Regions from separate parts of the Homo sapiens genome. Here all the other regions are linked to region 1. Evidence: promoter capture Hi-C in 16 types of primary human blood cells and fetal thymus (Javierre and others, 2016). All regions are on one chromosome and are shown on one strand. Each heading gives the region's core, a stretch centred on a gene start or on the middle of the fragment in contact. The rest is flanking DNA. Distances are from core to core; before and after follow the strand shown. Region 1 holds the start of CCNC (cyclin C). Region 2 has its middle 140 kb from the start of PRDM13. Region 3 holds the start of COQ3 (coenzyme Q3, methyltransferase). Region 4 holds the start of FAXC (failed axon connections homolog, metaxin like GST domain containing).

Region 1 (7,083 bases), core at 2,791-5,290:
GGGATTACCGATTTTTTTAATGATTAAGAGATTCTTCTGATCTAAAATTTGTATAGTATAAATAATAAATCATTTGTTTGTCAAATAAGTGCAAAATTTCTCCCAAGTTTAAATATCTCTCAGTATTTATTTGTAATACAGAAATCTGAATCACTTACTTAAATCTACCTTTTACTTTCATGTTTGTCAGGCATAGCAAGGCCTTTCCTGATTCAAAACGATAAAAAACAATTCACCCATATTTTCTAATACCCTTAAGAGCTTTTTTCCTTCAATTTATGATCCATCTGGAATTTATTTTGGTACAGAGTATAAAGCAGGGATCCAGCTAAATATGTTGTCAAATGCTTATCCAAATGTGCTAAGGTATTTCCTGATTTATAATTCTATCATTATACTTGGATCTTCTTTATAATTTCCTATTTTTTTCTTCTTCATATGCTGTGCTACTTTAAAACATAGAAAATTAAGTAATTAATAGGTGATATGAAAAATACTCCCTTCTATTCTTCTGAAAATTTCTGACTATTCTATCACAATTATTCTAAGACCTAAACTTTAGAAGCATTATGTCGAGTCCTAAAAAAGAATATCCATTCAAATTTTGTGATTACATTACATTTAAAGATCAATATGGGGAGAAATGACATCTTACCAAGAATTCAAACTCTATTAAAATCTGTATGTGCCACTATGGACTTTTAAAGTTTTCTTCCTACAGGTTCTGTATATTTCTTTATATTTTTCCCTCTGTATATTTTCTGTTGCTAATGTAAATTATACTTCTCTATCCATTTTTAAAAAGCTTTTATTTTTGCATTTTATAACTGGTCACCTTCCTAAACCTTTATTATTTCTAATAACTTCTCAATTAACTGAGTTTTCTCATTAATTTTATTTCCACGTATTGATAATTTTGTCCCTGTTTTGTCATTCTTTCTATATCTCCTTTGTATCAACTGTATTGACTAGCATATTGGTAAAATCTTAAATAGGCACCCTAATTATCTCAATGTTTCACCACTGCTGATGCTTTATGTTTTTCATGTTAAGGAAGCATCCTATTTCTGTTTTAGTAAGAGCTTTAGTCAAGGATAAATGTTGAATTGTATTAGTTTTTTAATACCTTTACTGCTTGATTTCTTAATATTGACTATATTTCTATAATAAAATCCAATGTCATGTTTTATACTTTCAATGTAATGTTAGACTGCATTTGGTAATAATTCATTTACAATGTTTGCATTAATATTCAAAAGTGAGACTGTTTTTAGTGTTCCCTTTGCTAGATTTTTCTGTGTTATCATGGCTTCATAAAGAGAATTAGAAAGCTTTTCTTCTTTCTGTATGAAATGGAACAATTTCAAAAGGAGATTCTCTTGAAAGATGGAAAGTATTTACCCATGAAATAACACATAGCTCTTGGGTAATACTCTTAACTTGCTTTGGCTTTCAAATTTAAAACCCTGGAGATAACCCAAAAGTACCCCTGGGTTTACTTTTCTCATTCCTAATTTTGTATTTTTGTATCATTCCTTTTTCCCCTGATTTAACTAGCAGTAGTTTGGTCTACTGTTTTTATTTACTCTAAGAATTAGCTTTTATAATTTTTTTCCTTTTAATATATTAGCATCGTTATCTATTTTAAGTCTTTCTGTTTCTTTAGGTTTATTTCATGTTTCCTTCTTAATATTATTAAATAGAATATTTCTATTATCTCTCAATTATTCAGGATATTGATTTTCTAATACATTCAAGCTTTGGTTACATTCCATATATGGTACTATTATGATGTTATTTTCTAGATAGTAAGTAACTGTATTTTCAGTTTCCTGTGGATACCAATAAAGTATCCACAGTTAGTTTTGTAGTTTTTATTTTTGTTACTTGTTCATTAATGCATTCAATTAACCAGCAAATACTTAGTGCCCTTCTAGTTCATTTTGGTCACAGACTGTGTTTTGTTCTACCTCAACTACACTGTGGTTTGCTAATTAATTTCATCCCCACAGAGTCATTTTATGTTTTTAAAAAGATAAATTTCACAAACATTTTATGAGTTTTCCTCACAGAACTCTGTATGGAGAATAAACTAAAAAACTTTATAAATACTGCATTTCATCAAATTTAAGATTACATCTAGGATTCATCATTATTTCATATGCTATGAAAGCAACTGCCATGCTGATTTCAAAGATGTTAAAGTGTGAAAACGTGCATCTTAGAAGCATGAAATATAGCATATTTAATATCAATTGCCCTCTTTCACCAAATTCACCTAAGACAATGGCCTTTCATAATCTTTTCGTTTGTTTTTCCAGAATTGTCTTGTCTTCCACACTCGTTACCTTTTCCAGATAAGAAACTCCATGACTGCTCAAGGGATTTGAGCAAGGCAAAGTGGTCCCTTCTTTTAGGACTATTTGAATTGGGAGAAAAGAATAGTTTCAAAGAAGTACACTTAACTTTATAATAATTTTATATTTGAAAAGTGAAAACATATTTTTAGAATGCTATGAATAAATGAAAGCATAATGAGAACACTATTGAAAATAAGGCAGGATCTTTTTTTTTTAAGTTGAAAAACTGAAAAATCAACAGTCAGCTACTTGTCAATTCTCTCAGCTTCTTTCAGAGTTTATCAGAATATCTCTTCTCCACTACCTAAACTTTTTTTTTCAGGAGCTCTAACTCCAATACCTAAACTTTCGATACTTTAATTTTGCCCAAGCAATATTTCAGTGTGTGAAAACAATGCAACATATATACACACACATATATATATACATACACACACACACATATATATACACACACACACATATGATCAGTGGTAAAGCTTCTTTAACATGTCATCTCCACAGAATCACTTTATAGCAAGAGGAAAACCTGCTTTTCCTTAAATAGGTTACTGAGTTCATTGTTTCTTTTTTTCTCTTTGCAAAGGGCTAAAAAATGAACATCAGGAACAGATCCTATTCACAGAATCGAAATTTAAATTACTTACTAATGCTTTCTTAGCATAAAAAATTATACCAAGATACCTTGTCAAATTCTGTTCATCTTTCAACTATACAGTGGAAAGCCTACTCAAATGTTCAATTTACCCCATAACGCACCTTCCTGCCTGCTTAAACAAATGTATTTAGGGATAAATGTTTTTAATATTATTCTAGCTCTCACATGGTCACTGACAGAAACAAGAACTTATTCATGAAAAAGGTTAAAGAAACAGGTAAACAAAGTCACTGGAAAAATAGGCCTTTAAAACAAAATATAAAGCACAGGCTAATGAAATGGATAAATTTAGAGGGCACCTGCCCTATACCTTATCAATATAAAACTCCATCTAGACATAAAGTACGCGCAAGAAGCGGTTAGTAGGCAGAAACAAGCCAGACTCTCTCCTCTCCTCATAATATTAAATCCACTCAAGATATACAGTGAATGACAAAAGACCACGACGCCGATCACCCGAAGAAACCCCAGGTAAAAGCACGCCACAACTGTCCTGAACAGGTAGCCTCACAGTCTTGAGCTGAGTCACACTTCCCGTACCTGTGCCCACTCTATCCGACCCCCCGCGGCCTAGCTAAACCAAGAATCCGAAATTAAACTCCGAAACGTTCCTTCCCGGGAGACGAAACTCTCTCCCACCCCTCCCCCTCACAGATCCTTCCCTCCCCGAAACTGGGGCTGGGGGCGGGGAGGGGAGTCGCCTCAGAAAAGCGCATCTTGATTCTGACCGCTGCGGTCTCCCGTGAGGACCCCGGCACTCGGAACTGAGCTGGGATCCAGGCCCAGGGGAGTCACAGGCCCCGTCCTCACAGCTCCCCCAAAAACCGGCCCCAGGTGAGAAGACGGAAGATCGCTTACTAGTGGGAGCTCTGCCAAAAGTTCCCTGCCATGGAACACAGCTTGCCCTGATAAAAAAGCACCAGCCGGCGGAGCGGCCCGCGGAGCGACCATAGACCCAGCCCGTCCGGTAACCGCGCTCCTCGATCAAATCAGCTCGGCTCGACTCCGCTCCGCGGCGGCGACGGCGAAAGGAAGAGGATGGCCCCCTAGTCTCCTTCACGCCGGCCGACAACACTCAACTGTGCAAACCCGTTCCTATCGACAAAAGTTCCGGCCCGCGGTAGCGGAGGGAGCCGGAGGGGAGGTGCTGACCCTTGGAGGTGCTGAGATTGAAGAGAACTAGTGTTCACGAGAGCTCGCGGCGGTTGGAAGGCTCTCGCGAGAGCGTCTTGAGAATTCTGGCCGGGGGCCCAAGCCGCTCGGTCTCCTGTCTTCAGCACGGGAGTTGCTGAGTGGGTCTAACCTAGGCGAAGTGGCTCAGATACGGGGTTCTGTTATTACCTCTTCCAGGACTTCAAAAACAGAACAATGTGGCATTGTAATAAAGTACAAGGTTTTGTGACTTATTTTTCCTGTGATTGGAAAGAGAAATAAATGAAGATGACTTTGTTCTCAGGGATCAAGTGTTCCTTTTTTTTTTTTACTTTATTTATTTATTTATTTTGAGACGGAGTCTTGCTCTGTCTCCAGGCTGGAGTGCAGTGGCACGATCCCGGCTCACTGCAAGCTCCGCCTCCAGGAGTTCAAGCGATTCTCCTGCCTCAGCCTCCCGAGTAGCTGGGACTGCAGGCGCGCACCACCATGCCCAGCTAATTTTTGTATTTTTAGTAGAGATAGGGTTTCACCATGTTGGCCAGGATAGTCTCAAACTCCTGACCTCGTGATCCGCCCTCCTCAACCTCCCAAAGTGCTGGGATTACAGGCGTAAGCCACCGCACCCTGCCTGTTTTTTACTTTTGAGACGGAGTCTGGGTCTGTCACCCAGGATGGAATGCAGTGGCACAATCTCGGCTCACAGCAACCTCTGCCTTTCCAGTTCAAATGATTCTGCTGCCTCAGCCTCCCAGGTAGCTGGGATTACAGGGATTACAGGCGCGTGCCACCACGTCCATCTAATCTTTGTATTTTTAGTGGAGAGGGGATTTCGCTAGGCTGGTCTGGAACTCCTAACCTCAGGTGATCCGTCAGCCTCAGCCTCCCAAAATGCTGGGATTAACAGGCGTGGGCTACCAGGCCCGGCCTGGATCAGGCGGTTTTTTTTTTTTTTTTTTTTTGAGACGGAGTCTTGCTCTGTCGCCCAGGTTGGAGTGCAGTGGCGCTATCTAGGCTCATTGCAACCTCTGCCTCCCAGGTTCAAGCGATTCTCCTGCCTCAGCCTCCCAAGTAGCTGGGACTACAGGCTCACACCACCACGCCCAGCTAATTTTTGTATTTTTAGTAGAGACAGGGTTTCACCATGTTGGCCAGGATGGTCTCCATTTCCTGACCTCGTGATCCGCCCACCTCGGCCTCCCAAAGTGCTGGGATTACAGGCGTGAGCAACCGCGCCCGGCCGCGATCTTTTTTTTTTTTTTTTTTGAGACGGAGTCTCGCTCTGTCGCCCAGGCTGGAGTGCAGTGGCGAGATCTCGGCCGCGATCTTAATGGAGTTATTTTGGAGTGATAAAGTGCAAACTTACAGAGCAGCGGAATCAACAGTTTTGCAGAACATCTAAAAATATTCATGCATATATGTATGCACATGTATGTACATGTATGCACCTAATAGAAACATACTGCAAAAAAAGCCATAATTTAATTTTACAAGACGAAATATTTTGTATTTTCCATTTCATTTTCATTGTAGCAATGCATTTATTGTAAAACTTATAATTATTTTTCTAAATAATTGGACACTCCAGAAACTTGTTTATAGACAGTCAGCATCTGAGGCAACTTAAGACAGTATTTTTCACATTGTAGGTGGAGACCAATTAGGGTGTGGTAAAATTAAGTATAATCATTTTCCTAAATAGAACAGAAAATACTAGGTAAATCAGAAATAGCAAGGATATTATATTTAAATTTGGTTCAGTTATATATGTGTGTATATACATACACAAACACACATATACACACACAGTCAAGATGTGAAATGCATTTGTTTGTATGTGAGAATTAGTCTGCATCAGGTGTGGTGGCTCACGCCTGTAATCCCAGCACTTTGGGATGCCGAAATGGGCGGATCACTTGAGGTCAGGAGTTTGAGACCAGCCTAGCCAACATGGTGAAACCCTGTCTCTACTAAAAATACAAAAATTAGCGGAGTGTGGTGGCGTGCACCCGTAGTCCCAGCTACTCGGGAGGCTGCAGCACAAGAATCGCTTGAACCCAGGAGGCAGAGGTTGCGGTGGGCAGAGATTGTGCCACTGCACTCCAGCCTGGACAACAGAGTGAGACTCCAAATCCAAAAAGAAAAAGAAAAAAGAATGAATTAGTCTGGATAAGCTACACTAGGTGAAATTGTGGTAACACCTCCCCACCCCCACCCCTAATCAGCATAGCTTAACATCAAAGTATTTTACATGTCATACGTCACTCCCATAAAGTCCCATAAAGTCGGCTTGCTCTCCTTGGTGGTTGTCTTCCAGATTTTCAAGAATGTAATATTTATATATCCTTCAATTACTCCATCTTGATGGTCTTTACTTCTAGGTTTAAAATCTTTCTAGAGAGAGCACAGAGGACTCATACTAACTCTTACCCAGGGTTAAGAGCCTTGAAACAGAAACAACCCAATCACTTTCTCTCATGGGCCATTGACCAGAATAGACACATGCCTCCAATTTTTAACTGTGAAGAAAGCTGAGGCCAGGCACGGTGGCTCACGCCTGTACTCCCAGCACTTTGGGAGGCCAAGACAGGCAGATCACGAGGTCAGGAGATCAGACCATCATGGCCAGCATGGTGAAACCCCGTCTCCACTAAAATACAAAAATTAGCCGGGCATGGTGGCGCATGCGTGTGATCCTAGCTACTTGGGAGGCTCAGGCAGGAGAATCGCTTGAACCTGGGAGGCGGAGGTTGCAGTGAGCCAAGATCGCGCCACTGCACTCCAGCCTGGGTGTCGGAGTGAGACTCTGTCTCAAAAAAAAAAAAAAAAGAAAGAAAGCTGAGAAATGTAAACGAGTGTGTAGTATACTTCATGAACACTACTGTCTGTTACACTACAGATCACAATAGAAAA
Region 2 (7,300 bases), core at 2,880-5,379, 180 kb after region 1:
TCAAGCGATCCTTCTGTCTTGGCCTCCCAAAGTGCTGAGATTACAGGCATGAGCCACTGTGCCTGGCCTGAGATGTTAGGTCTTTATGGGAGAAGCCAAGATGGAGGCGAGATTCGATAGGTCATGAACAAAGACAGAGCAGGTGGATGCTGCGTAGGGTGCAGGAGAATTATGGTCCAGGAGGCAAGTGGGAAGGGATGGCTTTGTGTGGACAAAAAGTAGAGAAATGCAAGAAATACATAGGACAATTTTTAGAAGTCCAATTCAAGAGTCAGAATGGTGGATAGATGACAAAAGGTGGTTGGTACAGCTCTTTTTGCTTCAGGAGTGAATGGTTTGACAAACTTCTTTAAAAATCGTTAAGTTTATCATAGTCGATGCAAATAGTAAATTCATTGCAGTCCAGGGGCTTCTGCTTGGCAATAAATTCCTCTAAAGTTATTTTTGAAGGGATGAGTCTTTGAGCTGTTGCCAAGGCTAGAAACAGTTTCCACTCTTGCTTTGATATCTTTAATGTGCTGACATTCGAATACAATATTTCAGATATGTGGAGAATGCAGGAAGGGATGGGCTGGGTATTGTGGTCACAGGAGTGACTGGATTGGAGCTGATGATACAAATGTGCCACTTCTTTGGGGATTCATGCTTTAGAGCAGTGTTTCTCATGATCCTGCTGTATTAGAACAACCTTAGATATTTCTTGAAAATTGAGCTCTGTTCTGTTGCAGACATTCTCATTAAGAATCTCAAGGGTGGGAGCAGGGACTGGAAATGTGAATTCTAAACAAGTTTCTCAGGTGTGTGTCCTAAGCACCCTCAAGCTTGAGATACTAGGAGAGATAAACAGCAGAGCAAATGTGCTCAGAGTGTTTTTTGTTTAAAATCTTGCTCCTTCACATTGTCTTTTTATTATGCTTTTATGTGATGTGTCTTTTATTCATAAAACACTTTTTATTTTATTATTATTTTTTAATACAGAGTGTCACCATGTTGCCCAGGCTGGTATCTGGCTCCTGAGCTCAAGCTCAGCCTCCCAAGGTGCTAGAATTATAGGCGTGAGCCACCGTGCCCAGCCACAATCTATTTTTGATGATAACAAGGAGTCCAGTTGTGTAATGTTCTTAGTCTGGTATCAAATTTGAAGACATGACTTGTAAACATTTGGCTACTCGACCCACACTGCCATCTAGTGAAATTTGTGTAAATTACAGCCAGCTGTAGCACAAGTACTTTAGCGTTGGGGAGTTTAGGGCTAGGCAATTCATGTATGATGCAAATGAATACACTTTCTGAATAGATGTCCTTTCACAGTGATTAGTCTCACTGTCAGGGGACCACGGCTATTACATTACAACGTTGCTTTGTAAGTATTTAGAATTTATTTGTTGGCTTTTTTCCCCCTTACATATTTTGTATCTGTCTGTTTGTCCATCCTAGTGGAGTTAGTTATAATTTGTTCAGAACATTATGAATAAGAACCCTAAGTACTTTCTAAAAATTTTACCTTTAATAAGTATGAGTTTTCATTGAAGTCAAAGACATTTTGTGAATAATTCTTTAAATACTTTTTGTTAATTTAAAGGGAAAAAAGGAAAAAAAACCCTCATATTAGGACATTTTTGAGAGAATACATACTAGATTTTAAAAAAATTGAAGCATATGAATTAATATTAGCATTTACATATTGTATAAGAAACATATACGTTTTAATAAAATTTACTATACTCTTACAATATTAGTATCAATCTGAAAATCTTCTAATATATGTTAGTAGTAAGTTGAATAAGATATTGAAATATTACAGATCCATAAGCTTAATATTATCTTGTGGTTCATGAGTAAAAACAATTATAGTTATTATTTAAGCTTTGTGAAAATATTCATGTGTATGGTTACATAGTCATATTTACGTATACATAATTATCTTATTACTGTCAAAGTATATGTAATGAAATCACAAATGTACTTCATTACTCTTACATAATTGCAGGTTCAGATATATAGTAACAAAAGTATTTAAGTTTTATAGATAATAAAGTATAATACAATCTTTTTCATAAGACATTTAGACCTAATAGAGATTGCTTTAATGATAGCTTATATTAAGATCTTCAGGTGTGGTGGCTCAAACCTGTAGTCCCAAAACTTTGGGAGGCCGAGGCCAGGGGATCACTTGAGCCAAGACCAGCCTGGGAAAAATAGTGAAACCTCATCTCTACAAAAGATACAGAAATTAGCCGGGTGTGGTGGTGCATGCCTTTAGTTCCAGCTACTAAGGAGGCTGAGGTGGGAGGATCGCTTGAGCCTGGGAGGCCAAGGTTGCAGGGAGTGGTGATGGTACCATTGCACTCCATTCAACCTTGGGCGACAGAATGAGACTTTGTCTCAGAAAAAAAAAATCTGGCTGTGATTAGGTTAACATCAAAAAAGTTCTGGACAAGAAAAAAGGGGTAAAGAGTCTTAACAGGGGTAATGGGATGAATGGTTCTCACTTCTTTATTTCCTTAAAATAGCTGAAATCCCAGGAATTGTATTGTTTTTTCTGATTTTAAAAGGATCACACACTGATGACTTTGTTTTGCTCCCTAGGTTTCCTGACACCTTGAAGATCACTTGGCACATTGTATGTGCTAAATAAATATTAGCTGATGAACCCGGGAGGCGGAGGTTGCAGTGAGCTGAGATCGCGCCACTGCACTCCAGCCAGGGCGACAGAGTGAGACTCCATCTCAAAAATAAATAAATAAATAAATGGATAAATAGTAAAAATATTTAGCTGAATGCATAAACGAATCATAAATGTTCAATATAGAGTGACTCCCTACTTTAATACTGTAGAGATAATCACTGTTAACAATTTGCTGTATATTTCTCTAAATTTTTAAATGCATACGTTAACCTGTATATTATCTTAGAAAAAAAGACTACATTCTATATACTTTTGCAACATTGTCTTTCGCTTAGCAATATCTATGCCAGTAGTAATATCTATATTTACCTCACTTATTGGACATATAGTATTTAATTATATGAAGATGAATAAGTCATCACATATCTAGTCAGCCTTCCTCTGGGATATTTGGTTTACTTCTGGTGTTTTTTATCTCCAAATATAAGCTATGGTGTAACAAACATCTGAGTAAATGTATTTCCATGTACAAAAATCTGTGTGTACAGTTGACCCTTGAACAATGTGGGAGTTAGGAATGCTGATCATCGTCCCCAACCCCGGGTCCCTATGCAGTAGAAAATTCATGTATACCTTTTGACTTCCCAAAAACTTAACTAATGGCCTACTGTTGACTGGAAGCTTTGCTGATAACAGAAACTGTCATTAACACATATTTTGCATGTTGTAGGTATCATCTACTGTACTCTCACAATAAACTAGTGAAAAGAAAATATTAAGAAAATCATAGAGATGAGAAAATATGTTTACTATTCATTAAGTGGAAGTGGATCAGCATAAAGGTCTTCATCCTTATTTTCTTCATGTTGAGTAGGCTGAGGAGGAAGAGAAGGAGGAGAAAGAACTGTTGGTCTTGCTGTCTTGTGGTGGCAGAGGTAGAAGAAAATTCCAGTATAGGTTGACTTGTGCAGTTCAAACCTGAGTTGTTCAAGGGTCAACCGTGTATATGTGTGTTTGTGTGTGTGTGTGTGTATAGATATATGAATATATATGCTATTGTTCAACTAGAGGACATATTCATGAAAGTGGAATTGCTGAGTCAAAGGGAATGTCCATTAAAATTGCTAAATATTGCTAAACTTCCCTCCGAAAGTATGTTAACAGTACAGGAATCCCTTTCCTCCAACACTTTTGTCAAAAGCAAATATAAATTTATCTTAATTGACATAGAAATGAATGGAATGATTATGATTATGATTATGATGAATGACATTTCTAATCTGAATATTCTGTGTTAAGAAAAAAATATCTGATGAGAAGGTGCTTAGCCTACTTTATAGGGATTTATGAAAATAATTTTTCCATGGTGGACTAGCTTTTAAATTTATACTGTGATTAAAGTTCCTTATTATCAAAGTTTTTGGTTGTTCAAGTTTAAACTAATGTAAGTTTGAAAACTCCAAATTATAAAATAATTTGTGGGGCTCACGTTGTTTCAAAGATTACAGTAATTTATTTTGCACATCACTTTTGAAAACCTAAACCTCTCAGTATAAACATAATAACTTTGTAAATAATGTTTAGTTGATCCTTAAGTAGACTATGTAATTTCATGGAGAAAAGTTTTGCATTTTATGAAAATAGAGTAATCATTAAGTAGAAAGGCATCAGTCTCACTTTGCAACCTTATTAAATATCAGTTACGACAGGAACACTTATACTTATTTCTGCTGCTAATTTTTCTAAACATTGGACAAATATATTAAATTGTAAGAAAAAAGGACAGATAAAGTAAGACTTTTTTGGTGTGCTTATTTTCTTGGCCTTGCAGTTTGGTGAGAAGGCGACTGGAATATTTGCATGTTGTATTGCATAATGAGACCAACACAAAATGATTGCAGCTCATGTAAAAGACAGGGTGGCATGTTTTCAGTTTTAATGGGGACACTCAGAAAAGTTCCAATTCTTCCTGACATTTCTTATAGCCAAATAAACGTGGTCTAGGTTGGAGTGTCTATTATGAAAATAAGAGGAGAGCAAGTCAATTATATTTCAATGACTGAATAGCCAGGGGTCCTCATTAAAATGATCAGAAAGATTGCAGTGTTGCTCTCCTCTGTGTAGCCACTGATTAAGTTGTATAAGAATGACATGGCCTTTTGGGGAGCAAGCCAGAGGATGTCTTAGTATCTGGAGCCAGAAATTGTTGACCCTTTTGAGAGAGAAATGTGTGCTACCTTAAAACAGAAAAATATTTTTTCTCTTATTGGATGATGAACTTTGGAATTAGGTATATGAAATTAGTTACGGCTATTGTATAGAAGCTTTAATTTGTGCTATGCTGTAAGAAAAATGCCCTTGAATAAGATAATGATGAAGATACATCTCTTTACATTTATCTCAGTCAGTTAGATCTATTTCACTAGAGTAACGTCTACAATGCAAGTGAATGAGTGTGTTTAAGAAATAGTTTACAAATTCACTACTATTCTTTTCCTTTTAAAATTTCTACTTATCTGTTTGTGTGTATGTGTGTTGGGGGAGGAGATAAAAGTCTTCTGAGGAAAATTATCATTGTTCTTCCTTTTGGACTCACATGCAAAGAGACAATACAGTTTAATATTGTTTTATATAGCAATACAGCTTAAGAAGATCAAACCCATTGCTTAAGAGAACAGCTTGACTTTCATATTTTTTTAACAGGTGAAAATAAAAGCGCCAGATTCTGCAAGGTCTCTGTAGTCAAGATTCCTATGCAACCAAACTCCTCAGTAGGCATCTCGTACATGTTAAGATCGGAAGGCCCGAGAGCCTTCAGTAAGTGGAACTTTTAATACTATATATATATATTTTTTAATGAGAAAAGGCTTACAAAATTTACAACTAGGCTCAAGCTCATTTTATAAAGCAACTGAGTTTTTAGTTTTCTCATAGCAATGAAATGAACTATGATTTTGTTTTCTGACATTGTCTATCTTTTTTCAACCCATCAGTTGTATAAATTGTATTTTAATTGATTACCTATGATTTGCCTAACATTTTAAGAGGAAGATGTCAACATTATAACCATAAACAGCACTAAGACCAAAATATATCAACCTCAGTTGATGTGTTTCAAATAAGTAAAACAAAATTCCATTTAATAGTCACATTAGTTAAAATAATTATTCCAAGATTTCTTTTTGTGCATGTGGTTATACAAACTCTTCTTTTCTCTCTTTCTTTTTTCTAGCTTGACTCTTTAACCCAGTAAAAATACTAAAACCCATTTATTAATCTAGTTGTGGAACAAAAAGGAGAACTGTAGCCAAATTTTATTCTCAATCAGGCTTCATAACATCATTTATAATTAAAATTACCTAATATAAATGTTCTATATTTAATATTATGTTATGAATATCATCATTCCTTATGATGGAGTTGGGGTGGGCAGTTACACATTTCAAGTGATTTAAATGTTTTTAGATTGATTTTCCTGATACTAGTCAATGAAAGTGCAAGTCAGGAATCTTTAATGTTGTAGTGTTATAATTTCACCTTTACTAAATAACCACACTGCAGAGTTGACTGCACTATCAAGCAGGTTTCAAAATAACAGTTTGAGAAAAACAGGGTTATCATGATGCCTTTTTTTTTTCCCCCGGTGGCTATTCTGACATGCAATTCACTGTGAAAGAAAGAATATAATGGGTTGCCGCCTGGATTAAAGGAACCCAATTATGTGCCTCTCAAATACACCACAGAGTTTAGCAGTGCCCAGATTTTATAATAGTATCATTCTGCCCTGTAGTTTTCATCTAATTTATGAAAAATAAATTAGATGAAAATTTGCAAAATGTGTATCCTTTCTGTATTCAAAGGGAATAAAATGTCTATATAAAGCATTAAAGTAGGTTTTCATTTTTATATCTACGTTAAACAGGATCTCGCATGGTATGCAACATCATGTGAGTAAAGGTAAGAGACATGATTTAGTGTTAGACCAGTGCCAGTGTTCACTAGGAAATGTGAGAACTGCCTGGAGAACATATGGGAGAGAGAGATTAGGGAAGTATGTAGCTCCATCACAAAACAACAGCATTTCAGGGGGATAAAATAATACGATGCAGTAACTGTGAATGCATGCATGTTTAGACATTGTAAATATTGTTATGTTGCATTGGTGATGGTTTGTAATCATTGCTGTCTTGTTTACTGCTCCTTTGAGTCATTTTTCCCTTTCAAGCCTACTGTTAGGGATTCTAGTACTCAAAAGTGTGCTGTGGACATCAAAAGGTTGAGAGGCATTGCTCCATGCTATAATTCATTTTCAAGAATAAAAACCAGTTTGAGGGAGAAGGGTTCTTTCATAATGATATAATCAAATAAGTTTTGGAAACAAATAAGTTAAATAGATTTCTGAATTGTGGGATTTCTTAAAGTTTTAAATTTTCTAATGAGCATTTTTATTCTGGGTAAGACATTTAGATTTTCTGAAACATATTTAGCCTTGGATTCCTTTTCTTTTTCTTTTTTCTTTTTTAAGGAACAAGTAGTTTTTGGTATGCAGTTTGGGAGGCTGAAGTGGGCGGGTCAGGAGTTCGAGGCCAGCTTGACCAACATGGTGAAACCCCATCTCTACTAAAAATACAAAAACTAGCTGGGCGTGGTGGTGTGCACCTATAAGCCCAG
Region 3 (6,811 bases), core at 4,014-6,513, 170 kb before region 1:
CACCCACATCCTCACTCTCTCCCACAATGAGTGCATGTACAGTTGGCAAAAACCAAATAAGGTCTGTAGTGGAGTCAATTATCATACTAAAGTTGATTTCCTGGCTTCAACAATGTACTATGGATGGTATCACCAAGGAACTGGGTGAATAGTACATGGAAATTCTCTCTGTGTGTTTGGGGTTTTTGTTTTGTTTTGTTTTTGGGGGGAATAGGGTCTCTCACTCTGTCGCCCAAATTGGACTGCAGAGGCATGATCTCAGCTCACTGCAATCTCTGCCTCCCAGTTTCAAGTGATTATCCAGCTCAGCCTCCCAAGTAACTGGGACTACAGGTGCACACGCCACCATGCCCGGCTAACTTTTTGTATTTTTAGTAGAGACAGGCTTTCGCCATGTTGACCCGCCTGATCTCAAACTCCTGACCTCAAGTGATCTGCCCGCCTCAGCCTCCCAAAGTGTTGGGAATACAGACGTGAGCCACCGCACCCAGCCTCTCTGTGCTATTTTTGCCACTTCTTGTGTCTTAAATTATTTCAAAATAAAAAATTTAAAAAATCAAAAAGTACAAAAGGGTACAGTACAAAGTATCTCTCCCAGCCCTGACTGTAGCTATCTAGTTTCTCTCCCTATAAACAACCAATCCTACTAGATTTGTATGTAAGATTCCAGAGGCATTTTATACATATGCAATCATTTTAAAGTATCAGTTTCTCTCATTTTATATAAAATGTAGCACAATACACTCATTCTGAATGTTTCTCTTCACCTACCAACATATCTTGGAAATTATTTCATATTTTTTAAAAGGCTGTGTGATAATTCATTGTATGGCTATATTATTTATTTAAGCAGTTCCCTAATAATGAGCATTTGGGTAATTATCAAAACTATGAGATTAGGGCCGGGTGTGGTGGCTCATGCCTATAATCCCAGCGGTTTGGGAGGCTGAGGTGGGCGGATCACTTGAGGTCAGGAGTTTGAGACCAGGCTGGCCAACATGGCATTAGCCCGTCTCTACTAAAAATACAAAAATTAGCCAGGCGTGGTGGGGTGCGCCTGTAGTCCCAGTTACTTGGGAGGCTGGGGCACAAGAATCACTTGAACCCGGGAGGTGGAGATTGCAGTGGGCAAGATCACGCCACCGCACTCCAGCCTGGGCGAAAGAGTGAGACTCCGTCTCAAAACGACAACAACTAGAGATTAAATTACATAGGTTATTTCATTTCATATGTGTTTCAGAGTCCCTGTAGGTAAAATCTCAAGAATGATGTCAAAGGGTACGTGCATTTGTAAATCTGTAATTGCCACTAAATAGATGTTGAACCAATTTACTATCCTATCGGTAATCTATGAGAGTGTCTCTTGTTGGTTTTCCCACACTGTCACCCATACAATGTTAAACTTTTTTTTTTTTTTTTTGAGACGGAGTCTTGCTCTGTCGCCCAGGCTGGAGTGCAGTGGCGAGATCTCAGCTCACTACAAGTTCTGCCTCCCGGGTTCACGCCATTCTCCTGCCTCAGCCTCCCGAGTAGCTGGGACTACAGGTGCCCGCCACCACGCCTGGCTAATTTTTTGGATTTTTAGTAGAGACGGGTTTCACCGTGTTAGCCAGGATGGTCTTGATCTCCTGACCTCATGATCCACCCGCCTCGGCCTCCCAAAGTGCTGGGACTACAGGCGTGAGCCACGCGCCCAGTCTTTGTTAAACATTTTTATGTTTGCTAATCAAATACATGAAAATGGTATCTTAGTGTAGTTTTAATTGTTTGTTTTTGTTTTTGAGACAGGGTCTCACTGTGTCACCCGGGCTGGACTGCAGTGGAACAATCTCCACTCACTACAACCTCCACCAAGGTCACCCAAGCGATCCTCCCACCTCAGCCCCTCGAGTAGCTGGCACTATAAACATGGGCCCCGTGCCCAGTTAATGTAGTTTCAATTTATCATGAATGAGGTTAAGCATCCTTTCTTATGTTTAGTGGTCATTTATATTTCACATCTTGTCTTTTTGTAGTCTCTGCATACTTTTCTCCTGAGCTTATGTTTATTTGGTTTTATTTTTTAATCAGCCCTTCACAGTCCATCCCAAACCCATTACAATGTTCTTTTTTAATAAAGTTCATGTGTCTAGGCTTTTGCTCATTTTATTTATTTATTTATTTATTTATTTATTTATTTATTTATGAGACAGGGTCTCGTTGTGTTGCCCAGGCTGGAGTGCAGTGGTGGGTTCACGGCTCACTGTAGCCTCTACCTCCTGGGCTCAAGTAATCCTCCTACCTTAGCCTATCCAGTAGCGAGGTCCACAGAAGCACACCACCATGCCTGGCTAAATTTTGTATTTTTTTTTTTGTAGAGACAGGGTTTTGCTATGTTGCCCAGGCTGGTTTCAAACTCCTGAGCTCAAGCGATCCACCTGCCTCGACCTCCCAAAGTGCCGGGATTAAAGGTGCTCGGCCAGGCTTTTGTTCATTTTATTTCCCTTTCCACCAACTCTATCTGGACTACCTTTTAAGACCCAGTTCAAATATCACCTCCTGTATGACTTTAGGTAGATACATGAGATATTATTAAAGAATAAAGTTTAACTATGTAAACCATGATACATCGATAACGACATATAAGGTATTACTATTATGAAACTAAGCCTTAGAAATTTTAACAATATCTGCTTTTACGGACAGACAACCCTTGATCTCTCTCTTACCTCCTCTATTTCTGGAAAATGAATCCCTAAGTCATCAGTATTGCTACAATTCTCAAGAGGTTTAAAAATCATCTTAGGCCAGACGCAGTGGCTCAATGCCTGTAATCCCATCACTTTGGGAGACCAAGGTGGGCGGCCTGCTTGAGCCCAGGAGTTCAAGACCAGCCTGGACAATGTGGTGAAACCCCTTCTCTACTAAAAATATAAAAATTAGCCATGCATTGTGGTGCCTGCCTGTAGTCCCAGCTACTTGGGAGGCTGAGGTGGGAGGACCAATTGAGCCAGGGAGGCCAAGGCTGCCGTGAACTGTGGTCATGCCACTGCACTCTAACCTGGGATACAGAGCAAGACCTTTTCTCAAAAAAAAAAATTAATTAATCTAAAAAGTAAAAATAAAAACCACTCTACCACCTTACCACAACGGAAAGAGAGTAATTGAGTTTGTATTTAAACAGAATGCTACCAATTCCTTCTCTACCTTGAATCTGTGATCATCCTGGTATTTGAAATTTTAAAGGAATGGGAAAAGGTTTTTTTCATTTTATTTATTGAAAAGTCATTTATTCAGCACCTACCAGGCACCATGCTGATGGTGAATAAAACAGGTGACAGACTTTTACCCTACCAATACTTTATTTCCAGCAATGATAATTTACTGTCTGGATTGCTCTAAGGTCTTCCTGGGCCTAGACTTGCCTGACTCCATCCCACATTCTATGTAGACAGCTGCCAAGTGTTATTTCTTAAACATAAATCTGTTCATGTTGCTTCTTCAGTGATTTCCACTGTCCGCGGGATAGTCTACCTCAGGAGGTGTAAATGGCCTTTCATGAATGTGTCATGGCCAAAAAGGCCTCTTCCTCATCCCTTGCCACCCCCTGCCTTTACCTTCTGCCCTCCACCTACACACTTTACTTTTCAAGGAACCTTGCAGTTTCTCACAAACTTTCTCACAGATTCTCGAGCTGGTCCTTTCCCCTCTCCAACTGCTTTTTTTTTTTTTTGAGACAGAGTCTCACTCTGTTGCTCAGGCTGGAGTGCAATGGTGTGATCTTGGCTTACTGCAACCTCTGCCTCCCAGGTTCAAGCGATTCTCCTGCCTCAGCCTCCCGAGTAGCTGGGATTACAGGCGCCTGCCGCCACGCCCAGCTAATTTTGTATTTTTAGTAGATAGGGTTTCACCATGTTGGCCAGGCTGGTCTCGAACACTTGACCTCAAGTGAGCTGCCTGTCTCGACCAACTGCTTCTAAAACTGGCCACCTCCTTCAAGATTTCTCTAAATATCCCATTCAAGAAGTTTCCTTGATCCCAAATATGGATTAAATGCTCCTTCTATGTTCACCCCTCAAAAATTGGAACTAGGTTTATTATATCTTTTCTAAATTTTTGATTATAAAAGACACATGTTTACTAAAAAAAGTTCAGAAAAAGAAAAGTATATAAAGGATAAAATGATAGAAAATCACCTACTCTACCACAGGCAATCACTGCAAAATTTCTCTATATATCTCCACCTGTAACTCCAAGTTCACTATACATACTGATTTGTAACTTTTTTTTTTTTTTGGCTCCTTCCAGGAAACAATGAAACTTTACTTTCTTAACACTATATCTTACTACTTTTCCATGTGGGTACAAATAGATTTAAATCATTTTTATTGGCTGTACTATTTTTCACTGTATGATAGTACCAACTAATAACCTTTATTAATGGGCGGTTAGATTCCCCATTTTTTTGTTCATTATATCCTGATCTTAGGTTTATCCTAACATTTTTAAAGAGATCCTTGCGGTGTCATTCATTTTTAAATTCCCAGTGCTCATACCAGTGTCTGGCATACAGTATTTGTTAAGAGTTCCATGTGAAAGATGAGCTTAAGTTTCTACTTAATACTGAGAGTTCGAAAATCAGACTGCTGTCTACAAGCACTGAGCAGTGCATTATTTTCTTGATCTCATTTGCAAATGCAGTCTGTTGGATTAACCTATTAATCAAAAAGTAATACAGCTGCCTTAAATTCTTTCTGAAAAAAACAGCAAGCTTTGTGCAAACAAAACACAGATACAAAGCTATGCATAACTACGAGGCGTGAGTTATTCCTGCCCCGGCAAAGGAAAGATGCATGACCTTCAGACTGCAGCACACGCAGAGCGGGTCGCCGGCTCCTGGGGCAAGGAGCTCAGCCACAAGAGACCCGCGGCCTGCGCTTTTCCAGACAGGACCACTGGTCCTGAGCTCTTTTCCCCGGCGTCCGCCAACGGGACTATGCGAGGTTTACAATGGAGAGAGATGGGGCCAGGACCAAGCCTTAGGTTTCGCGCTGACCCCTCGCGAGGTCCAGAGACAACCCACCGCCCCACCCCCGGCGCATGCGCAGAGACGCCAGCGCTCGCAATTGACTGCATGCGAAGGACCTCCGCACACACACTCACCCGCCGAGGAAATTAAGGGACGCGCAGCTTTTGTATTACAGCCTCCAGGCCCCAGCACTCTTAAAAACCAACCCCCGGAGGAGCCCAGCTTACGGCCACTCCACATCGCGACAAACGATCCCACCTCTTTTCCGGTCCCTCCCGAAAAAAGATCCCCAACATAAAGGTTCCGAGATCACTTTCGCCGTCTGCAGCCGACTTTTTTTTTTTTTTTTTTTTTTAGCAGAGTCTGTTCTGTTGCCCAGGCTGGAGTACAGTCCCCATCTCGGATTCTGGGATCACTGCAATCTCCGCCGCCCGGGTTCAAGCGATTCTCCATGTTGGCTGGTCTCGAACTCCTGACCTCAGGTTATCCGCCCGCCTTGGCCTCCCAAAGGGCTGGGATTACAGGCGTGAGCCACCGCGCCCGGCCTGCAGCCGACTTTCATGATTGTATTGTTGAGTGTTATGTATGTATGGCTATACTTTCACGCTCATTTAGCAAATTGCACATGGAATTAAACTGCAAGATGTTTTTACTATCATAAACAACTTTGAAGATACTTTATTGCTATAGGACACCTCAAACCTCATGTTCGAAGTTGACCTCAATCAGGCCATTACTTCGTGCTGTGTCTTCTTTTATTGCCATGTAGCTCTATTTCACACTTAACAGATGTCTCTTCAAGGACTTTTATATTCCTGTAAGACATTGACCCTACTGCTAAGAATGCAAGAGTATGGGAGCACTTCTTCCTCAAGGGAAGAATTGTTTCCCCTTTCAAGGCACTCAAATATCAGATGGCCAGAAGGCCAAATGTAAAACTTATTTTCTGCAAATGACTATTATCTTGTACAGGGTATATACATCATGTAGTAGGAGGCTTCTGTGGCTCAGTCTAGGCAAACTTCATTTAGAGCTAGGAACAGTGATCAGTAACATTTTACGTCTAAATGCACAAAGTCTTTCTTTGGGTAAGAACAATGACGAATCTCCAACATTGAAGACAAAAAATTATTCTGTATTTTCAACAGGTAGGGTCAAATTGGTAAAGGGTTCTTTCAGTTAGCGAAATTTACCGCTCAGGAATCTTTTTTTTTCTTTTTTTTTTGAGACAGCCTCACTCGGTTGCTCAGGCTGGAGTGCAGTGGTAGGATCTCAGCTCATTGCAACCTCCGTCCCCCAGGCTCGGGTGATTCTTCGTGCCTCAGCCTCGTAAGTAGCTGGGATTACAGGTGTATGCTGCCATTCCCGGCTTAATTTTTGTATTTTCAGTCAGGGTTTCACCATGTTGGCCAGGCTGGTCTCAAGCTCCTGACCTCAGGTGATCTGCCTGCCTCAGCCTCCCAAAGTGCTGGGATTACAGGTGGGAGCCACCTCACCCAGACAGCAATAGTCTTTCATTCATGGTTCTTAGCTAAAATATTGACCTCCTCCTAAGGGTGGTCGCACTTTTCAGTTGCTATGTCCTCTTCAGAGCTCCTCTACCCTTAGATACATGATCCTCTCTCCACATGAAGGCAGAAAGCTCTGCACAAAAGAAAATGTAGCACGTCTTGTATTTATTGGAGTGACACATCCAAGGAAAAAGCAAAGTGCAAGCACAATTAAATAAAGTTCTAGGAGCTTTATATGTACTTTCTTTGAAGGTACCACACTTCACTGGGCTTCAGAGCCTTTCCACTACAT
Region 4 (7,819 bases), core at 3,103-5,602, 220 kb before region 1:
AATCAATGCTATGAGAAAAGCTACTACTACTATTACCATTTTACAGATGAGAAAACTGAGTCATCAAGAGCTTACTGTCATATCCAAGGTTATGTGGTTGGTTACAGACAGAGTCTGAATTTGAACGCAGACAGTCTGGCACCAGAGCCCTCCCTCCAACATGTCAGAAACTCCTCTCTAATTTAGGATCAGAGGTTTGGGTAGGTTGTTCCCTGTACAGCTATATTTTATAAAGTGATCTTACCATAAGGTTTATATAAGAGGACAGCCATAGAGCATTAACTAGCTAGTTTACTACTATTCCCGGGGCTAACGATACCACAGATGAACATGCCTCTGTATACAGCTGATGATTTGTTAGTTTGCAGAGATCAGATGTTGATTCGCCAACTAAATGCTCTAGAAGAGGCTGAGCCCGTGTGTCAAAAGTGCAAATAAGCACTGGTAATGAAGTTAGTACTTAGTCATTCAATTTACAAACAAAAATTTCCAAAGCCTGATTGAATTTAAGATAGCTGCCAAGCTATCTCCACTCAGGGAAAACAAAGTAGTGTGTTGGAACAATATTTATTTTAAAATATGGTGCTAAAAAACATGGATAAAACCCCAAAAACCTACTTCAGTTATATTCATTAATTAAACTTCCTAAGTAATTCTCACCTGTCAACTTTACTCTTCCACTCTAGAGACACAGTCATAGATTAAGGTTATGTCTATGCAGCAGAAAATCCAAGTAGGCTGGGGAAGAGTTTGCAATAGCCAGAAACTCAGGGTAGTCATTTTAAGGTGTATTTTCTATCTTACATATTTCAGATTTTGTTTTGTTTTCTGCCTAAATTATAAAGACTATTGAAACCTAGATTTCACCTTAAGTGGAGGTAGTTATCATGTAACCTCTAAAGCCTTGGTCTTTGACCTTCCTGCCTGGTTTTTTTCCCTTTGCCCCTCCACTCCTCTTCCCCTAGACGCTGCAAGAAAGGCACCTGATACAGGTCTGTCTTCCCTGAGCAATGCTTCAGTTCTCCACATTTCTCTTCCTTCCTCTTCCTCCAACAAAACGGATTTCAAAGTAGGTACTTTTTTTGAGACGGAGTCTCGCTCTGTCGCCAGGCTGGAGTGCAGTGGCACCATCTCGGCTCACTGCAACCTCCGCCTCCTGGGTTCAAGCGATTCTCCTGCCTCAGCTCCCCGAGTAGCTATAGGACTACAGGCGCGTGCCACCACGCCAGGCTAATTTTTGTGGGGTTTTTTTGTTTGTTTTTTAGTAGACGGGGTTTCACAATGTTGGCCAGATGGTCTCGATCTCTTGACCTCGTGATCCGCCCGCGTCAGCCTCCCAAAGTGCTGGGATTACAGGCGTAAGCTGCCGCGCGCCGGGCCAAAGTAGGTACTTTCTAAGAGGCAGTGGTTAAAAACTGCAGGCTCTGATTTGAATCTAGATCCTACTACTCTTACTGTGTGATCTTGGGCAAGCTGCTTAACCTCCCTGAGCTGCAATTTCCTTATCTATGAAATGAACAAACAACAGTTGTGAGGAATAAATGCAGTCACACATGCAAAGCCCATCCTACTAAGTATTCAGAAATAGCCCTTTTTTATTGTTTGCATTACTTCAGAGCTTTCTAATTCAACTCAAACATTTGTCCAGAAACAAAACTGGCCAAGTATGGTGGCTCACACCTATAAACCCAACACTTTGGGAGGCCAAGGAGGGAGGATTTCTTGAGGCCAGGAGTTTGAGACAAGCCTGGGCAACATAGTGAGACCCCATCTCCACAAAAAAGTTAAAAAAAAAATTAGCCAAGTGCAATGGTTCATGCCTGTAATCCCAGCAACTCAGCAGACTGAGGCCAGAGGATCGCTTGATCCCAGGAGTTCAAGAGCAGCCTGGCCAACACGGTGAAACCCTATCTCTACTAAAAATACAAAAATTATCCAGACGCGGTGGTGCACGCCTGTAATCCCAGCTACTCAGGAGGCTGAGCCAGGAGAATCATTTGAACCAGGGAGGTGGAGGTTGCAATGAGCTGAGATCGAGCCACTGCACTCCAACATGGGCGACAAAGCGAGACTCAGTCTCAAAAGAAAAAAAAAAAAAAAGGAAGAAAAAGTGTGAATCAACCTAGGATTAAACTCCTTAGTCCAAATAAGCATCCAGTGCTGAGGTATATAGTCCCCTAAATGAGTTAGTAGCTATCTGTGGGCAGAGAGCTCTCCAGTCTCCAGTGACAACACCTGCCAGGGCAGGGCCTACTCCGGAGTGGCAGCTGAGCTCCACACTGTTTCTGCAAGGTCATTTAAGCTTTGTTTTAAACTTGGTCCTGTGAAGCCTTCACTCCCTCCACTGCTGAGAAGCCTCATGGTTTGGGATCTCCTCAAAGGCTTTAGACTAGAATACAACTGAGAAACAACTGGGTTACCATTTAAATTACTGCCCAAATGTTTTAGTTCTTTAGGTAGCTTGAAATCTAACTTGAAATACAGTTCTAAAACTAGCACAATTAACAAATAATCTAGAGAGATAATTCTCTTTAAATTTTTTTGTTTGGTTCAGCTAGATTCAAGGCAATGTGTTGAGAGAATTAAATGTGCAACAAGCTTAAAATAAACTTCCTCAAATATGGCTAAATAATATGAAAACCAATACATTTCTCCAAACCTAAATGATTTCCCACCCTTTCAGAGATGGGAACTATTCAAAATATGTACGTTAGGCCAAATGCCTACATTAGGCCATCACAATAATCTCCTGGGATCCCTGCAGGCTAGTACAGGTCACCTATCACTGTCTTTGTTTATAACCTATTGTGTAGGATTCCTCCACTGGAATAAGGCAGTGTGGACACATTTCTCTCACTTTAGAAAATACTGGCAAAGAGACATTCTGAGCTATTGAAAACTGGGCTTCTGGTAATCTTCCAGTGACGGAAGGCTCAAATGCATGGAAATTTTAACCATTAATTGATGTATCAATTAGCCAAACGACTGTCTCAGTGCCCTGTGGTATTACTCTACCCAAACAAAAATCTCGTCCCGGCTGGATGTACCAACAGCAGGGGCCTCCATTTTCTGGTATTTCCAACTCAATCTTGTAAACATTCTGCGGCAGCGGATGCAACTGTTTACGGCACTGGGCGACTCCGTGTTGTGCCCAACACACCCATGTGCTAGCCTGTCCTACTGCTCACACAACAATGACATCTAAGCCTGAAGATGGTGCTTGGCGTTCAATACCAGATAAGCAGAGAACCAGGTTAAGGCTGCATCAAAGCTGCCCACCACTACACTTGGTCATGCATCTTTAACAGGGACCCGCAGGTTTCTGGAGCTTTTGCAATTTTTCAGTCTTTTGATGTTGACATTTAGGGAAGAACTAACCTTTAGGTAAAAGATAAGGTTAGCAGTTAATATTCCAGCATTATTACTTATAAACAAGGCATTTCATAAAAGTGTAACCTATTTCTGCAGGGCCCAATTCTATTGTTGCAAACACACTGCACTTAGATCCTCCTAAGGCCATTTCTTAATAGATAACGACAAGTGACCCAGAGCATTTTGGGAGACAAATGTTTTTCCCTCCCAGCACCGGTTTAATTCTCCTTTCAACTCTAAACTGCCCCTCACGGCCAGGTGACCACAAATGCCTTTAGGGAAAGGTAATTGCAGGGCGCTTGGGCATCTGGGCAGCTTGACCGAGGGGCTGGCACGGGCCCCTCTCGCGCCAGCCCTGCCCTAGCCAGGTGCCCCTCTCTGCGCCCCTGTGCGGGGCCCTCTCTCCGGCTCACCTAATGACCAGGAGTTCGTGGAGCAGATACGCAGCTGCGGCCAGCAAAGCTCCCCCGGTCAAGTAAAGGGTTTTCTTCCACCAGGGATCGGAGCCCAGCCCTGCCATGATCCCACCGTAATCCTGCAAAGGGAAAGCGATGATGTCCCCATAAAAGGAGAAGGGCTCCTCGGACCCGGCCCACCAGCCGAAGAAGGAGATGCTCTGGTTCCAGCTCAGATCCACCACGCACGGCCTGGACGAAGCAAAGCCAACCCCCCAGTGCATGCTGCGCGGCTGGCTCCGGGCGCCCCTCCCAGGGCCCGCGCCGCCCGCATGGGAAGGGGCCGGCGCGGCCCGGCGCGGGCTCAGAGGCGCGCGGAGGGCGCGGGCGGCGCGGGCGGCGGCGACTGAGGAGGCGGCGGCGACTGAGGAGGCGGCGGCAGAGGAGGAGGAGGAGGAAGGGCACTGGCCGCGGACGGCGGGCCTGGCCGGCGGGGCCCCAGAGCCCTGGGCGGCAGCAGCGGCCGCCGGCTCCCCCCGCAGCTGCCTCTCCGCCCCGCTCTTTGTGTCGGCGCCTGGAGAAGGCCGCGTGATGTCATTGCTCCCCGGGGCAGGGAAACAGAGGCGGGATAAAGTCACCTACCCCGCGCCCTGCCCCCTCCCCGCATCTCCGCGGTCCGGCCGCCTCCGCCGGGGCCGGATCTGCAGGGCTGAGGCGCGCCGGGCAGGCTCCGCGCCTCCGGGCGGCACGCCCAAAAACCGCTCGCCGCGCGCGGGCAAGGGCGGCGGAGGTGCCTGGAAATGCGGCCCCACCGCGAGGAAGCTGCAGTCGGGGCCCGGATCCCGGTCCTCCCCTACCCCGGCCGGCCCTCCGCCTGCGCTCCAGCCCCTCCCGCGGGCCCCAGAGTAGGGAACGCGCAGGACTCACCTGGGGCGGCGCGGAGCTGCGGGCAGGAGACGCCACCAGGCGGGGGCTGGGAGCGTGGGCCAGGATTAAAGTCGGGAATCAGATTGTTCTGGCCATCAGGAAAGCGCTGCGTATTTGCATAATGTATAAAAACACTCTTATTACATTACACAATTACCTCGGGCTTGACCAGGTGTTCGCAGAGACGAGATGTCTGGTTTGGCAAATAACAAAATACTCTACCTAGAGAGATTTCTCTGACAAACCCAGTTCAAGTCTTTCCTCTTTGAAGTCACTATCAGGGAACTCGCTGATACAGGGTTTCGGTTGGGGGACGGGGGTCCCTCTTTTGTTTTAGAAAATCTGTCTAACAACTGTGTGTGTGTTCAGTGTATTTTTTTCCTTTAACTTCATTTATTAAAGTTCATAAGTACAAAGAATAGAAGCTTGTAATATATGCACAGATTTTAACAAGAGCATGGATAGTTTTAAATTGTTTGGAAGAACTGAAAAAGGATTCGGGCCGTGGAGGTTCATCACTCTCAAGGTGGAAGGATGGGTAAAAGAAACCTCCAGGCTCTTGCCTATGGAGCAGAGATTGAGGCGCAAAAGGACTCCCCCTTTTTTTCCTCTCCTGACACACCCGCCCCTTAGAACAGGCAAGGAGTGTGGTCGTCTTGTTAATAAATAATAAATATGGACGTGTCGCCTCAACGAGACGGGGGGAGGGGCTAGTCAGCTGATGCCTAGGCACCAGCATGTGAGACTCCCCAAACACTCCTGGGAAAATGTGACCTCCCAGGAAGAAGTAATGTGTGTGGTTCTAAGTGAGGCTCCCATAAGTAGGTTGCAAGGAGTGAAACCCAACGGCCTCCTGGGGTGACTGAGGTGGTCACCAGCCGGTCTTTCAAGGAGAGAGGCCAGAAGGCTGCCTGGCCTTGTCGGCAAGAAGCAGAGTAGTTAAGTCTGGGACCAAAGCTGCAGTGCTCTGGAAGAGGGAACAAGGAGGGCTGGCACCAGGGATTCTCCATGCTCCTTCTGTGCCCTTCCCACAGAGCACTCAGTCTTTGCTCTCAGTGAACACTGAGCCAATATTTAAAGAATATAAGTTTGATATTTGGGATCACATTATTTGCATATCTAGGTCTAGACATGGGGATGGGCATAAATTACCTTAAGTGGAAGAATATGGAAGGCAAAAGGGAGAGTCAATCCTGACAAACCTTATGCCCAAAACAAGTTAGAACCCAGAGGAAGTGTAGTATTTTTATCCCAGAAAGCCACTGACTACAATTCACTCTCACTCATAGTGACCTGCCCCACCCACTCATGCAGGCCAGGGGCCCACTGCTGCTTCCTGGTAGTGTCAGACAACTGTTGAGCATCATCTGGTCTCTGGTTCAAATATGGTTTACATTTTTAGAGACACTGCAGTGAACATCTTTAAGAAGCAGATGTGGGCTGGGCACAGGTGGCTCACACATGTAATCCCAACACTTTGGGAGGCCAAGGTGGGTGGATCACCTAAGGTCACGAGTTCGAGATCAGCCTGGCCAACATGGCGAAACCCCGTCTCTACTGAAAATACAAAAAATTAGCCGGGAGTGGTGACGAGCACCTGTAATTCCAGCTACTCGGAAGGCTAAGGCAGGAGAATTGCTTGAACCCAGGAGGCGGAGGTCTCAGTGAGGAGAGATTGTGCCATTGCACCCCAGCCTGGGTAACAAGAGCGAGACACCGTCTCAATAAAAATAAAAATAAAAATAAAATAAAATTCCACAAGAGAAACTAAAATGTCATCTTAATCTGATGCATCTTAAATTTTAACTTTTAGATCCATGGCATAGAAGAGAAAAGATGATTATTGTTAGGGCTGTATAAGATGAAAAGAGGAAGAGTAGACTGAGGAGACAACAAATCTGAGTTGGACAAATATTTGGTATCAGAATGTCAGAACAGGCCGGGCATGGTGGGGTGGCTCATGCCTGTAATCCCAGCACTTTGGGAGGTGGGCAGATCACTTGAGGTCAAGAGTTTGAGACCAGCCTGGCCAACATGGTGAAACTGTGTCTCTACTAAAAAAAAAATACAAAAATTAGCTAGGCATGGTGTCGAGCACCTGTAACCCCAGCTACCTGGGAGTCTGAGGCAGGAGAATCACTTGAACCTGGGAAGCAGAGGTCGCAGTGAGCTGAGATCGCGCCACTGCACTCTAGCCTGGGTGACAGAGTGAGACTCCATCTGAAATAAAAAAGAAGAACCTCAGAACAAACCTTTGGGGAGCAAGGAAAGCAGCTCTAGCTGTAAAGGCACCGACTGATGCAATCCTCAGCCAAATCTTCATCCAAAGACAGACTGAGTTTCAGAGGGAAAAGCTGCTCCACAAAGGGGTGCAAGCCAGCTGTAGAAAGATGGGAGACTCAGGCTCAGGGGCAAGGGACTCAGCCCCAGAGGAGTGGTGGTGGTGGGATAAACTCAGTAGAAAGGAACCAAACACAGCTTGGTTAACAAGAGTTGCTAAGGAGGCTGATTCTGCAAAGAATGGCTCCTCAGAATCCCTAGTGTAGAGCCAAGTCACAGGCTGAAGCCACAGCAGCTATGCAGGGCCTCCCTACTGAGGCTGAAGGTGCAGGAGCTGAGCATGTCTGCACCCCAGCTCTCCTCCTGAGGCTCCTATAGTTAGTGAGAAAATTTGAAGACTCTGGGCACTAGGCTAGGCATCTCTACTTCACCCCTTCTACCACCACCACCACTAATTTTGACAGCTTTGGTGCCGTACGCATGGACATTAGCTCCAAACTAGAGGCAATTTCTTTTTCTTTTTCAAGGACTTTTTGTTAACTAACTTTAATTGAGTTGTTATAAGACAAGAAAAAAGAAGGAACTAATATTGATTGAACACCTGTTTGTGTTGTATAGTGATTTTTTTTCCAGTAACAAGCTATGTTAGATAAGTATTGTCATTTCAATTTTACAACTGAAAGAAACTAAGGCCCAGAGGGGACAATTAACAAGTTCAATTCCCAGAGTGAGGTGATGATGGATCCAAGCATGTCTTACACCAGTGGCCCTGTGGGCGCTCCACCACCTCCATCAGCGGTGTCCAATCTTTTGGCTTCCCTGGGCCACATTAGAAGAACTGTCTT

What was found. Contacts are between HindIII fragments. The CHiCAGO score rates a contact against its expected background, and 5 or more counts as called.
Region 2: a fragment that was not itself captured here is called in contact with the fragment with the promoter of CCNC in region 1 in 1 of 17 cell types (monocytes); the score reaches 6.5 in monocytes.
Region 3: a contact is called between the fragment with the promoter of COQ3 here and the fragment with the promoter of CCNC in region 1, in 11 of 17 cell types (total B cells, naive CD8 T cells, activated CD4 T cells and 8 more). The highest score is 12.6, in total B cells.
Region 4: the fragment with the promoter of FAXC here is called in contact with the fragment with the promoter of CCNC in region 1 in 9 of 17 cell types (megakaryocytes, M2 macrophages, naive B cells and 6 more); the score reaches 6.5 in megakaryocytes.

The regions. Positions count from the first base shown.
Region 1 is chr6:99,564,620-99,571,702 of GRCh38, forward strand. CCNC (cyclin C) reads right to left here and starts at 4,041. Exons shown (of 12, transcript NM_005190.4): 1 at 3,877-4,041. The coding sequence starts at 3,908. It also overlaps the pseudogene TSTD3. RefSeq lists enhancers at 3,739-3,818, 3,939-4,228, 4,349-4,398. The HindIII fragment of the contact is 11,578 bases long and covers 2,838-7,083 here.
Region 2 is chr6:99,745,291-99,752,590 of GRCh38, forward strand. No RefSeq gene overlaps it. Among named protein-coding and RNA genes, the nearest start is that of PRDM13, 140 kb to the left of the region's middle. The HindIII fragment of the contact is 1,643 bases long and covers 3,309-4,951 here.
Region 3 is chr6:99,388,932-99,395,742 of GRCh38, forward strand. It overlaps COQ3 (coenzyme Q3, methyltransferase), which reads right to left and starts at 5,264. Exons shown (of 7, transcript NM_017421.4): 1 at 5,143-5,264. The coding sequence starts at 5,248. RefSeq lists an enhancer at 4,520-5,159. The HindIII fragment of the contact is 4,880 bases long and covers 4,749-6,811 here.
Region 4 is chr6:99,345,322-99,353,140 of GRCh38, forward strand. It overlaps FAXC (failed axon connections homolog, metaxin like GST domain containing), which reads right to left and starts at 4,353. Exons shown (of 6, transcript NM_032511.4): 1 at 3,786-4,353. The coding sequence starts at 4,051. RefSeq lists enhancers at 735-1,235, 1,236-1,736, 2,627-3,191 and silencers at 4,383-4,442, 4,513-4,562, 4,623-4,702. The HindIII fragment of the contact is 2,521 bases long and covers 2,597-5,117 here.